3 separate regions of the Homo sapiens genome follow, and regions 2 and 3 are each linked to region 1. Evidence: promoter capture Hi-C in 16 types of primary human blood cells and fetal thymus (Javierre and others, 2016). All regions are on one chromosome and are shown on one strand. Each heading gives the region's core, a stretch centred on a gene start or on the middle of the fragment in contact. The rest is flanking DNA. Distances are from core to core; before and after follow the strand shown. Region 1 holds the start of CDH24 (cadherin 24). Region 2 overlaps AJUBA (ajuba LIM protein). Region 3 overlaps HAUS4 (HAUS augmin like complex subunit 4).

What was found. The method cuts DNA at HindIII sites, captures the fragments that hold promoters and counts their contacts. A CHiCAGO score of 5 or more calls a contact.
Region 2: a fragment that was not itself captured here is called in contact with the fragment with the promoter of CDH24 in region 1 in 16 of 17 cell types (erythroblasts, activated CD4 T cells, M1 macrophages and 13 more); the score reaches 13.7 in erythroblasts.
Region 3: a fragment that was not itself captured here is called in contact with the fragment with the promoter of CDH24 in region 1 in 2 of 17 cell types (erythroblasts and M0 macrophages); the score reaches 7.4 in erythroblasts.

Annotation. Positions count from the first base shown.
Region 1 is chr14:23,055,168-23,059,184 of GRCh38, forward strand. CDH24 (cadherin 24) reads right to left here and starts at 2,353. Exons shown (of 13, transcript NM_144985.4): 1 at 2,236-2,353; 2 at 366-690; 3 at 1-186. The coding sequence starts at 566. ACIN1 (apoptotic chromatin condensation inducer 1) reads right to left here. Exons shown (of 19, transcript NM_001386863.1): 19 at 3,397-4,017. The coding sequence ends at 3,981. LOC105370705 (collagen alpha-2(I) chain-like) reads left to right here and starts at 2,493. Exons shown (of 2, transcript NR_169511.1): 1 at 2,493-2,875; 2 at 3,118-3,482. RefSeq lists silencers at 2,233-2,352, 2,433-2,582. The HindIII fragment of the contact is 16,339 bases long and covers 1-4,017 here.
Region 2 is chr14:22,970,099-22,974,460 of GRCh38, forward strand. It overlaps AJUBA (ajuba LIM protein), which reads right to left. Exons shown (of 8, transcript NM_032876.6): 7 at 3,949-4,017; 8 at 1,079-3,470. The coding sequence ends at 3,345. Among named protein-coding and RNA genes, the nearest start is that of AJUBA, 10 kb to the right of the region's middle. The HindIII fragment of the contact is 1,286 bases long and covers 1,073-2,358 here.
Region 3 is chr14:22,950,174-22,954,461 of GRCh38, forward strand. HAUS4 (HAUS augmin like complex subunit 4) reads right to left here. Exons shown (of 10, transcript NM_001166269.2): 3 at 2,368-2,510; 4 at 2,155-2,286; 5 at 1,382-1,516; 6 at 141-237. It overlaps PRMT5-DT (PRMT5 divergent transcript), which reads left to right. Exons shown (of 3, transcript NR_110002.1): 3 at 4,158-4,288. Among named protein-coding and RNA genes, the nearest start is that of MIR4707, 4.7 kb to the right of the region's middle. The HindIII fragment of the contact is 1,137 bases long and covers 1,301-2,437 here.

The DNA of each region.
Region 1 (4,017 bases), core at 1,103-3,602:
GGGCCGGTTGGAGGCTCGGTCCACGGCTTGGGCCAGTAGCACATATTGCGCCTTTTCCTCCCGGTCAAGGCTCTTGGTAACATGAATATTGCCTGTGGCCTCATCAATCACAAATACGGTGCCTGCCCCCTCCCCGGTCAACAGGTACTTGGTGCGGCCCTCTCCCCGGTCAACATCCGAGTGCAGCTGCAGGGGTCACGAAAAGATGGCAGAGGGCTCCAAGTACAGAGACAGGGTTAAAGAGTCTAGGTTTGGGTAGAGCGTTGGGAGTCCTGAGGGACCAAGGTCATTGCAGAAGTGATGAAGTTGCAGGGCAGGGCCTGAGGGCTTGGTGTCAGAGTAGACATGGGAGGGGTCATCCTTACCTTGCCAATGAGAACAGGCTCTGGACCAGCATATTCCTCAATGACAAAGAACTGGTTCCAGACCCAGCTCCTTCGAGTCCGCAGCAGAGCAGGCCCTGGGTGTTCCCGGGACCCTGCCCAGGCCCGGGCTGGGGCTGCCAGACGCCCCATGCAGCCCCAGCCACCCAGCCAGGCCAGCAGGAGCCTCACCAGGCCCCACATGTTTGGACTCCAGCCAGGGCTCTGTTCACTGGCCCTGGGTGCTGAGGCTGGGCCAGGCCACGTGGCCCATGAGCTGGCTGGGGTGGAGGGGCAGATGCGTTGAGGCTACCCCATGGATCCACACCTGCAGGACAAGCAGCTGCTCAGGCTCAAGGAAACCCCTAGCCCTCCTCCCCCGCAAAATTAGATGCTGAAGACCAGACCTCCAAGGAACCAGACACTCCACTGCCCAGAACTCAGACTAAGACAGAGAGCAGAGAGGCTGATCCTTCCTCCACCCAGGCTCTGCATGTATTCACCTCCAGCCCTCCAAGCTGATAAATCTCTGGTCAGTCAACTCTGAGTAGAGAACTGGGGAGGAACACAGGAGAGGGGATGCTGGGAGGGCTTGGAATCCCAAATCTGGTCTCTGTCCTCCCAGGTTGGGCACGTAGCCAGGTATTGGAGGAGGCGGGGCTACCAGAGAAAGGGCTTAAAATTACGGAGTTGGGATTCATGGAGGTGTGGCCTTAAGGTGTCTAGGGTCAGCATGAGATGACAAGGAGTGCAGCCTCAGGCAGGGCTGAGAGTCTGTGAAAGTCCCTCCCCACAAGGGGGAGCCCCACTCTCCAGGCCCTGTCTCCAGCCCACGCTGCCAGTGCAGTCCTTGAAGGGGGACTGGGCTCGTGAGACAGGAGTTGGGAGCCAGAGCTGAAGGAAGAGGATACAGGGTGGGGGACAGGGGGAGGTGACCGGGGAGAGAGGTCCACCCAGAGGCTAGAGACAGATAATGACTGACGGCTAGACTGACTCAGGGACTGTCCGGCAGAGAAATGACTGGATGAGAGACAGAAACAGAACAGTGGCAAGAGACAGAATGAGAGAGACCAGGGCAGCAGCCTGGGTGTCTGAAGGCAGAGAGGAGTCCTAGGGGCCAGGCTTGGAAACGGGTCACCGGGGGCAGTTCCGGGCAGGCAGGGGCAGACCTCAGCTTCGGGGGTGTCAAGCCAGGCCTCGGGAACTTAATTCTGGGAGAAGGAGCAGACAGGAGGGGTGGAGGCAGGGAGGGGCCACGGGAAGGGAGCTAGAGAGGAGACCCTTCCCACTGCTCTCCTTTCTCCTAGGGGCGGGGGGGAGGACCCCTCAGGTAGCTGTGGCTTCTGCCCCTCCTCCCTCAGAGCAGACACACACCTGACAGTCCCTTTGCTCCCGAGGGAAGGGGGAAACCGGAGGAAGGCTGGGGACCAGAGAGAAGGCGGGATGAGGAGGCGAGAAGGAAGGGGATAGAGGAGTGGGAAACAGGATAGCAGGAAGGGGAGAGGAGAGGGAGGGAAAGGAGAGCAAGAAAGAGAAAAGAGAAAGGCAGGAAAGGGGAGAAAGGTAGAGAAAGAAAAAGGCAAAGAGGGAGAGGAGATGGAAAAAGGACAAGAGGGAGAGGGAAGGGTTGGGGAGACAGAGGGAAGGGATAAGGAAGGCAAACAGGCAGAGAAGGAAGGGTGAAGAGAAATCGAGAGAAGAAAGAGGGAGAGAGGTGCGAGGGGAGAAGGGAAAGAGGCAGAGCGCGGGAGAAGGGAGCCGGCAGCGGGCTCCCAGCCACGGAGCGCACCCCTCCGAAGACCCCCGCAGGCTGCGGGCCCCCTCCTACCCCTCCGCGGATTCCCGACCCCTGCTCCGGGGCAGGCGCCCTTACCTGGCACTGCCGAGGGGCCCAGGCCGGCGGGAAGCGCCCCCGCCCGCCCCCGTCGCCGGGTCCCGGGGGCACAGCCCCGAGCCGATTGGAGCGGGCGCCGCGGCTCCGCTGCAGGTCTGAGCGGCCCCGGCGAGAACAAGGGAGCGAGACGGAGGGGGCGGGGGAAGAAGACTCCGCCTGCGGAGGAGCGAGGCGGCTCCGCGCCGCGCGGGAGAGGAGAGCCCAGCCTCCGACCCTCCCCGGCCAGCCGGGCCCGCGCGGCGGGGGCGGGGGCGGAGGCGGCGCCGCGCGTCCGCCCCCTCGGCGCTCCTGGGCTGCGGGGCGCATACAGATGCGGCGCCCCTCCCGGACCGGGCCCGCAGCGCCCGGCAGGGCACTCGGGCGGGAGGACGTCCAGGCCACGGCGCCAGGCCATTTCCGAAGAGCTGGCGGGGCGGGTGCACCCGGGAGCGCGAAGCTGCCAGTCCCCGCCCGCAGCGGAAAACGGGCGAGCGCGCGGTGAGGTGGGGAATTCGGAGCCCACTGCGGAGAGACCCGGCTCCGGGCTCCCGGTTCCCGGCTGGCTTTTGGGACTGGTGTGGATGGAATCCCAGCTGCAAGGCGGCGGCGTTTTGAGAGCCCATGCAAAGCACGGTAGCAGGTCAGCTGGGGGACACTTAAGGACGGCAGAAGGGTCCAGAGAGTCCGAGGCCCGGGCCCAGGGAGCGGGTCGGGAACAGAGGCACGACATCGGCGGGAGGTCGGAGGCGGGCAGTGGAACCCTTCTTGGGAAGCTCGGTTACAGGGGCCAACAGAGCGAGGAGCTGCCGCCCCCTGGTGGTAGTTGTGGGAGGCACCAAGGTGGCAGGCAGGTGACCAAACCCCTAATTTAACCGTGCACAGGACCAGGAACCAGAAGAGGACCCACCCTCCTAGCCCTGCTGGGGTGCCGCCACGGACACAGGTTGCTCCATGCCTTCCCGAATGAGGAAGGTCCACAGCTTTGGGTTGGTCAGGGCCAAGGCAGGGGATAAAAGACGTGGGAAGTTCAATAAGCAGGAAGCAGTCAGCCTAAAGGAACACATGGAATGAGAGCAACTCCTACTCCAGATATCCTCAGATGTCCACGCTCAGATATCCACAGTGGCTTCTTAACCTGCCCAAAGAAAGCCACTCACACAGTTTAAAACTAAGTCAGATTTTTATTTTTTTTTCCATAGACCACATCATTTAATAATAAAAAAAATAAAAATAAAAATTGAACAAAAGGAAAAGGTGGATATAAAGTGGAACCTGTGGGAAAGAGGCAAGGGCTGCAGGACAGAAGAGACTGGGAACTGCAGGGGCCCTGGGACTCAGGAGGAGATGCTGATTCAGCTCATAGGTGACCCAGTCCTGGCCCCGGCTGTTCCCAAGAGAAGGCTGTAAGTACCCAGGGAGGTGGTAAGCAGGATGGAGGAAAAATCAGAGGACTGGGGCACCTGGCTGTTCCCCATCTCTGGCCAACCACCTCCTTGCCTAACCTAGCTCTTGCCTCTCAGACTTAATGGGAAATGAGAGGGAGGGTCGGGCTAAGTCCCAAGAGATAGGTTAAGGGGGTGTGTTTGGGGGGAAAAGGATGGCCACTTTTCCATTTGGTATGTATGTAGGGATAGGTGATGTGAAAGACCCTTGGCTCCAGGGTGGTGGAGACTGTGCCTATCCCTCTGTGGCCATAACCCCCTGGGGCCGAGTGGCTGGTACCTGCAGCTCTAGTGTTTTCCCAGCTAGCGGCGCCCACCCCGGTCCCGCACAGGTGTGCTC
Region 2 (4,362 bases), core at 466-2,965, 86 kb before region 1:
GGGGTTTCACCGTGTTAGCCAGGATGGTCTCAATCTCCTGACCTCGTGATCTGCCTGCCACGGCCTCCCAAAGTACTGGGATTACAGGTGTGAGCCACCGCACCTGGCCTTTTTTTTTCTTTTTGAGATGGAGTCTTGCTCTGTTGCCCAGGCTGGAGTGCAGTGGCGCGATGGCTAACTGCAATCTCCGCCTCCCGGGTTCAAGCGATTCTCCTGCCTCAGCCTCCCAAGTAGCTGGGACTACAGGTGCACCCCACCATGCCTGGCTAATTTTTTTATTGTTAGTAGAGACGAGGTTTCATCATGTTGGCCAGGATGGTCTTGATCTCCTGACCTCATGATCCTCCCACCTCAGCCTCCCAAAGTGCTGGGATTACAGGGGTGAGCCACTGTGCCTGGGCAAGACTCCCAACTCTTAAAAAAAAAAAAAAAAAAAAGAGGCAGGGCTCAGTGGCTGACAACTGTAATCCCAGCACTTTGGGAGGCCAAGGCAGGCGGATTACCTGAGGTCAGGAGTTTGAGATCACCCTGGCCAACATGGCAAAACCCTGTCTCTACTAAAAATACAAAAATTAGCCAGGTGTGGTGGCGCCGGCCTATAATCCCAGCTACTCAGGAGGCTGAGGCAGGAGAATCACTTGAACCCAGGAGACGGAGGTTGCAGTGAGCTGAGATTGCACCATTGCACTTCAGCCTGGGCAAGAGAGCGAGATTCTGTCAAAAAAAAAAACCCTGAGAGCCGGGCACAGTGGCTCATGCCTGTAATCCCAGCACTTTGGGAGGCCGAGACAGGCAGATCACAAGGTCAGGAGATCGAGACCAGCCTGGCTAACACAGTGAAACCCCGTCTCTACTAAAAATACAAAAATTAGCCGGGTGTGGTGGCGGGCGCCTGTAGTCCCAGCTACTTGGGAGGCTGAGGCAGGAGAATGGTGTGAATCCGGGAGGCGGAGCTTGCAGTGAGCCGAGATAGCGCCACTGCACTCCAGCCTGGGCGACAGAGTGAGACTCTGTCTCAAAAAAAAAAAAAAAAAAAAAAATATCCCTGAGGGGATGGATGTAAAGTTACACAAGCTTGTCTGGATTTCCCATCATAGGGCCTTTGTATTCACTTATTTAATAATAGTTCAGAAGAAGCTATCTCAGCTGTACAAGAAGTAATTCAGTTTCAGAACATTTCTCACTCCAACAAGGTGCATTTTCCCCTCTGGCGCTCAGTTGTATAAATCTGACCTCTTTCCCTCTCACTCAGAGATCTCTTTTATGTATTTCCCAGGTTGGCTGGCATAGTCACCTTAGAATAGCCCCCAAATGTGGAAATTCTGTTGTCAGGAGTCATCATTTCCAGTAAGAAACTCACTGAGTGACAGAAAATGAAGACTAAAGATCAAAGATTACTAAATTAATTTGCCTAAAACCAATTCACCTAAAACCAATTAGTCTAAAATAAATATTTATCAAATCTGCAGCATTTCAAAAGGATTTAGCAGATTCACCCTTTTAGTTATTACTGTTGTCTGTATAACTTTTCATTGTAAGTCAACTGAATATGCCTCATGCCTATTCATTTGTTTAAGATATACTGGCCTTTTTAACAGTAGGAATGTAGAAGTTAGACCAAAGCATCAAAATCACATTGAACTCCATTATATTTTTCAAGGCATTTAATTTGTAAAGGAATATTGGATTAAGAAACAAAAAAATGATACACAAAATGTCTGTACCAATTGTATTTATTGCTAGAAACTTTAAACTTTTTAAAAAAGTTTTTGAATGGTAGATAACATAGAAAAAGACATCCATAAAGGTAGGAAGCAATCTCATCATTTACAAAGTGCTGCAAATTTGATAAATTTATGTTGCTGATAATAGCTCAGAAGTACTCTTGGATGAATAGATATAAATCCTTGAAATATCCAAAGCATGACAAAAAAGAATAGGACACCTAAATGGATATAAACACACCAAAATAGGAATTGAGCTTTTGGCAAATTAGTCATTAAGTCATTAACTTTAAGCAAACAAGTTTTCAGTAAATTGGTTTTAAGAGATCTAGCTTTAGGTGAACTAGTTTCAAGCAAACTGACTAGTATCAAATCAGTGTTTTGCTCCCTCCAGTTCCCCCCAACTCTAGTTTTGGGATTGTGATGGATGCAATCCGGGACCCCTCTGAGAGGTGGCAAGTGAGCTTCTACTAGGAAACCAAGTGTACAAGTGACCTGAGAAGAGAGTAAGAAAGAGTGAGAGAGAGACAGAGAGACAAGAGAGAGAGTGTGTGTGTGCATGAACACACCCACACATGCATACACTGGGCTATATGGCTCAGTGCACCTAAACTTGGGAATGTGGCTAAGCTGAAGCTTCCTAGACATCCCCCCAACAAGCTCCACACCCACAGAGATCTGCTCATTACCTCCCCCAGCCAAGGAGAAGAGCAACCACGTACAATCACCTACCTAGCCTCCCCAGACCCATGTAAGTTCCTGAGAAACAGGGAATACAGGCAGCAACCCCACTCAGAGCTGGTCCCCATTCTCAGACAGATAAGGAGCTCTCCTAGTCCTTAGAAGAAGGCCAAGAAATAACTCATTAATGAGGTCCAGAGTTTCTACCTCTTCATCCAGATATAGGTGCGGGACCCCATATCTGACACCATGTGTCACAAAAAGTGAGGAGCTTAAATTTGGTTGCCTAGCAGGAACTCACCACCCTAGACTTGCTACCTCTCAGGGACATCCCACACTGCATCAACCACAACCCCAAAACTCTGGGGTTTGGGGGAGCTGGAGGGAGAATTACACTTTGATTTGGTTCTAGTCAGTTTAGCTGAAACTAATTGATTTAAAGCTAGGTCCTCTACTCCTGGAATCCAGGACCAGAACATTGCGTGACTCATGCATAATCATACACTAGGCCAGACACAGTGGCTTACGCCTATAATCCCAGCACTTTGGGAGGCCAAGGTGGGAGGATCATTCGAGCCCAGGAGTTCAAGACTAGCCTGGGCAACATGGTGAGATCCCATCTCTAAAACAAACAAAATATATATACTGAAGATACAGAATCAGATGTTCAGAAAGTCCTGGAACCCTCCTGTGTGTGCCTAAGCTCAGACTGCACACATGGGAAAAAGGCCAGTCGCCCCCACCCTGGTAAATATAAGGTTTCTCTTCCACAATCCATTTGGAATATCATGATCTTTGGGTCTCCGGCCCTTGGGGTCCTCCCCAGAGGACTCTTCTGCCAGGCCTGCAGAGTGCATTCTTTGCCTTGGCTGGCCTCAGAGGGGCCCACTGGCCACAGCAGTTTGTCTGCAGGGTGACAGCAGCAGCAGTGATTGCAGCTCAGATATAGTTGGCAGGGGGTTGTCGGGCATTGAGCCGCTGCATGTGGCAACCATGGCAGAGCAAGTGCCCATCCAGAGGGAAACAGCAGCAGCCTTCCTCATCACTCAGCTGCATCCGGCAGTCCTAGGGAAGAAGGCACCTAGTTCACCTCAGCCTAGGCACCTTGGACACTGAGGGTATCTTAGGAGTCTGCCCTGCTCAACACCTGACTCCTAATAACTGGAAGAAAGGGATGGGGTGGGAAGGGAAGGATGGAAGGGATGGAAGAGCAATCTGAGAAAATACTAATACCTCAGCTGGACACCAGGTGTCACTGCTGCAGCAGAAATAATGACACAAGCCTGTCTTTCAAGAAGTTTGACCAGAGTCCCTAGTCTTAGAAAGTCCTGACTCTGGGAGAGTCAGATTCAGAAAGGACTAAGCTACTTGGACCAGAGAGAGTGGCTGGAGGACAAAAAAGAGACTGAAGATAGGTCACAATATCTTTCTGGTTTCCCATGCCCTACACCTCTCCCATAGATGTCTGGTTGTTGCAGGACTTGACTCCTCCCCTCTCCCCATTTCCACTTCTTCTCCAGCACCGCTGAACCCCAACACTCACCTCACAGTGGTAGCACTCAAAGTGATAATCCCGGTCCATGGATATCACCCTCACGATGTCCTCACAGCCCTGAAACATGCAGACCCCCATGGAGATGAGAGCAGCATGTTGCCTCACCTCCACCTTTCCCTCATATACAACCCTTCCCACCCCATGGGAAGATCATACAAATGCCCCCAGAGTCTCTCTGCAATCACCTGTAGTTTTAAGATGCTTCTGCAAATCCTACCAGAACTCTCATCTCCTTCACTGGGCTGCACCCATGGAGCACACTCCCTCTGTACAACAGCCCTGGCCTTACCTGCGTCTCTCAGTTGTGCAGGAAGCAAAGGGAAGGGAAGGGGACAGGAGGCCTAAATAAAGTAGGCTAGGCTGGGAACAAGGGGATCCAATAAGATCTGGTCCTCACTGGCT
Region 3 (4,288 bases), core at 619-3,118, 110 kb before region 1:
TACCAGCAACAAAACAAATAAGCATCTCTGATGGTTCTAAACCTCTGTCCCAAATCTAAAATCAAAATATATTATTCTCAAAAGAGCAGACCAGGAACCCTGAAGTCCAGCTGTGAGCAGAACAGACAGCTAGCACTCACCTGAATTGGGATCATAGTAGCAGAGCAGAGTGAAACATTTCTTTTTGAGCTGCTCCTCTACTTCTTGCTGTAGCCGAGCCCTCATCCACACAAAATCCTACAGTCATAGAAGTAAAGGCAGAAATGCGAATAGACTGTAAAAACTAGGACGTCTCAGCCAATGAATACATGATGATAACCTCAATAATAGCCAAAGAAAATGCATCAAGAGACATCAGAGAGACTCATTTTTCACCTATCAAATTAGCGAAGAATAAAATGACTGTCAAGACCCCATGTTGGTGAGAACATGGGGGATCCAGGAGCCCTGAAAATACCTTTCTGGATAGCAGTTTGGCATTAGGTACCAATATTCTGTATGAGTATGCACTGACTCAGGAATCCCACTTTTAGCACCAGCATTACAGAAATAATCATACAAAGGTAAAGACACATATGAACCAGCATGTTCATCTCCCTGTGGTTTCTAACAGCAAAAATGTGGAAACAACCTTAATATCCACCAATAAGGTTAAGCAAATTATTCTACATCCATATAATAGAATCCTAGCAGAGATTTAAACTGATGACATAACACTAAGCACTATGTGCCTAGATACTTTGCTAACAGTGCTATAGAAGCTATCATCTTATTTACATTTATGTATTGACTTGAAAAGAAATCCAAAATATATTACATGAAAATAGACTGTACTTTTCTTTTTTTGAGACAGGGTCTCACTCTGTGCCCAGGCTGGAGTACAGTGGCATGATCACAGCTCACTACAGCCTTGACCTCCCACCCTCAAGTCATCCTCCTGCCTCTGTCTCCCGAGTAGCTGGGACTACAGGTGTGCACCACCAAACCTGGCTTTTGTTTTGTTTTTTTTTTGGTAGAGACGAGGTCTCACTATGTTGCCCAGGCTGGTCTTGAACTCCTGAACTCAAGTGATCCTCCCACCTCAGCCTCCCAAAGTGCTACGATTATAGGCGGAAGTCACTACACTCGGCCTTATACTCTCTATATAAGCATGAAGGGTATAATACCATTTATGTCAAGCTGTTTATAATAATATTGTGCTTCTAGATGCAGTATTTCAGCTTTTACTTGCTCCTGTGTAACGTTTTTCTTATTTGAGTCTGACCACCCTGAATGTGTATCATTTTTACAAAAACAATAAAGCTTGACAAAAAAAACATTTTAAAGATATGGGAGAAATTAAACCATTTCATTTATTTGGTTCCAATATCTCCCCGCCAACCTCTGAGAGTGGCATGAGTTCCAGAAGGTCCGCTTTCTCCAGCCCCAGCAGTGGAGGTATCTCCCTCTCCTGGCTAGGACCTAAGAGCCGCATCAGTTCAGTTACAAGCAGCCGCTGTTCAAGGGTCTCATGAAACTGAGAGAGAGAGAATAAAAAACAAAAAGAGGCAACTATAAAACTTCTCCCACTCCACCTCTTCCATCCTTATGAACCAGTTTTTCACATATTTTCAAAGTCCTCAAATATATCATCCCCCCTCAGATAACTCAGCTGCGAGTGACTTCTGTCAATGTTTCTATTACAAACTCTGATAACACATCCACTCCTTCCCCATAACTACAGTCCATTTCTCTTTTGACAAACCATTTCTCAAAGCTCCTACTTCCCCTAGATCACATCATCAGACAAAGCCACAGTTGGCCTGGTCATTCCTGTAACTGGTAACCAACCCCACCTCATTTCTTTCACCTCACTTTTTTTTGAGACTGAGTTTCGCTCTGTCACCCAGGCTGGAGTGCTGTGGCGCAATCTCGGCTCACTGCAATCTCCGCCTCCCAGGTTCAAGCGATTCTGCTGCCTCAGCCTCCCGAGTAGCTGGGATTACAGGCGTGTGCCACTGCACCTGGTTAATTTTTGTATTTTTAGTAGAGACGGGGTCTTACCATGTTGGCCAGGCTGGTCTCAAACTCTTGACCTCAAGTGATCAGCCTGCCTGGGGCTCCCAAAGTGCTGGGATTACAGGTGTTAGCCACCACGCCCAGCCTTTGCCTCACCTTTTTGTCCTCAGAAGTTACATTTGTGTCTTGTATCTTCACATAGTAGTCCACAAGCAACTCTTGAATGACTCTGTGTAAAATCTCAGACCTCAACCATGTTGTCTTATGCAGTCGAACTTCCTTCCATGCCTAGAAATCCAAAAAATCTCAGGTAGGAACCTCTCTCTCAGGATTTTCCCTTCTTCTTATCTCTTCTCCCAAAGCCCTTACCTGAGCCTGCTCCTTTGCTAGGGTGAGGCTTAAGCCACTCTCATCCACATGCTGTGAGAGATTCAGGAGAAGCTTGCTGAAGTATGGGTTCTGTAACAGGTCCTCTTTACTCAGGTTACAAGGAGGAAGTTGTTTGCTGCACACTTAACATCATGTCCCCACAGGTACAAAAAAACAAAAAAGGTGTGGACTCTTACTTTACATAACTGAGCATAACTTAATACTTCCAAAAAACCCCTAGGATTTTTATAGGAAAGATTGCTAAATCTAATGAGATTTTTTAAAAATCCACAAATAAACAAGGGTAATATTCAAGGTAACAAGCATTTATATTATATACAAGGATATTAAGGGGGAATAAGTAATAAACTAAGATCTTAGGAAACGGAAATGCAGTTGGTACATATTAGACAAATAGAATAAAAATTAAGGGACCGTTAGTAGGAATCACAATACACAAAATGCCTCATTCATCCAAAATTAATAGAGTTCTTGAAGTAGGGGGAAAGAAACACAACACGTGAAGTTCCAACTTTGGATGTGATATGTAGTCGCATAAACAAGACTAACAGAATACACTTAGAGTAAGTTAAACGTTCAACTAACCAATTTTTTTTTTTTCTTTTTGAGACAGGGTCTCACTCTGTCACCCAGGCTGGAGTGCAGTGGCACAATCACAGCTCACTGCAGCCTTAACCTCCCCAGATCAAGCGATCCTTCCACCTCCTGAGGAGCTGAGACTACAAGGCAAACCACGATGACTGGCTAATTTTTTTTTTACAGACAGGGTCTCACTACATTGCCCAGGCTGGTCTTGAACTCTTGGGCTCAAGTGATCCTCCCACCTTGGCATCTCAAAGTGCTGGGATTACAGGTGTGAGTCACCACAGCTGGCCCAAATTCTTTTTTATTTTTTTCTTTTGAGATGGAGTTTTGCTCTTGTTGCCCAGGCTGGAGTGCAATGGCGTGATCTCGGCTCACTGCAATTTCCACCTCCCGGGTTCAAACGATTCTCCTGCCTCAGCCTCCCGAGTAGCTGGGATTACAGGCATGCGCCACCATGCCTGGCTAATATTTTTTGTTTTTTGTTTTTTTTTTGAGACGGAGTCTCACTCTGTCACCCAGGCTGGAGTGCAATGGCACGATCTCGGCTCACTGCAAGCTCCACCTCCCAGATTCACGCCATTCTCCTGCCTTAGCCTCCCAAGTAGCTGGGACTACAGGCACCCGCCACCACGCCCAGCTATTTTTTTTTTTTTTTTTGTATTTTTAGTAGAGGCGGGGTTTCACCTTGTTAGCCAGGATGGTCTCAATCTCCTGACCTCGTGATCTGCCCGCCTCGGCTTCCCAAAGTGCTAGGATTACAGGTGTGAGCCACCGTGCCCAGCCTCTAATTTTTGTATTTTTAGTAGGGACGGGGTTTCTCCATGTTGGTCAGGCTGGTCTCAAACTCCCAACCTCAGGTGATCCGCCCGCCTTGGCCTCCCAAAGTGCTGGGATTACAGGCATGAGCCACCACACCTGGCCAGCTGGCCCAAATACTTATAATTGTCAGTAGAGTTGAGTAACCCATGTAGATACAAAACAGCACAGGCATGAGAAAAAAGTGTAAGAAATTGAGATCCTCTGGTTTTTCCATATGCTCAAGGAGCTTTCTTTCCATTTCTTTTTCCATATGCTCTCTGTTGGGGTCTTTTACCTCTACTTGCCAAAACACCCAAATTTTCATTCTTTGGAACATTATACCCAAAGTCTTTTTGGGAAATAAGAAATCTCTCTTTTTCCCTAAGGTACTGAAGCATCCAATATGGAAATAGTCAAGATATAGAAAATGCAAGCTCTTGAAGGATTCAAGATATAGAAAGGATCTGAGATATGGAAAGAACTCAGGATATAGAAGGATCTGAAATTTTGGAGACTA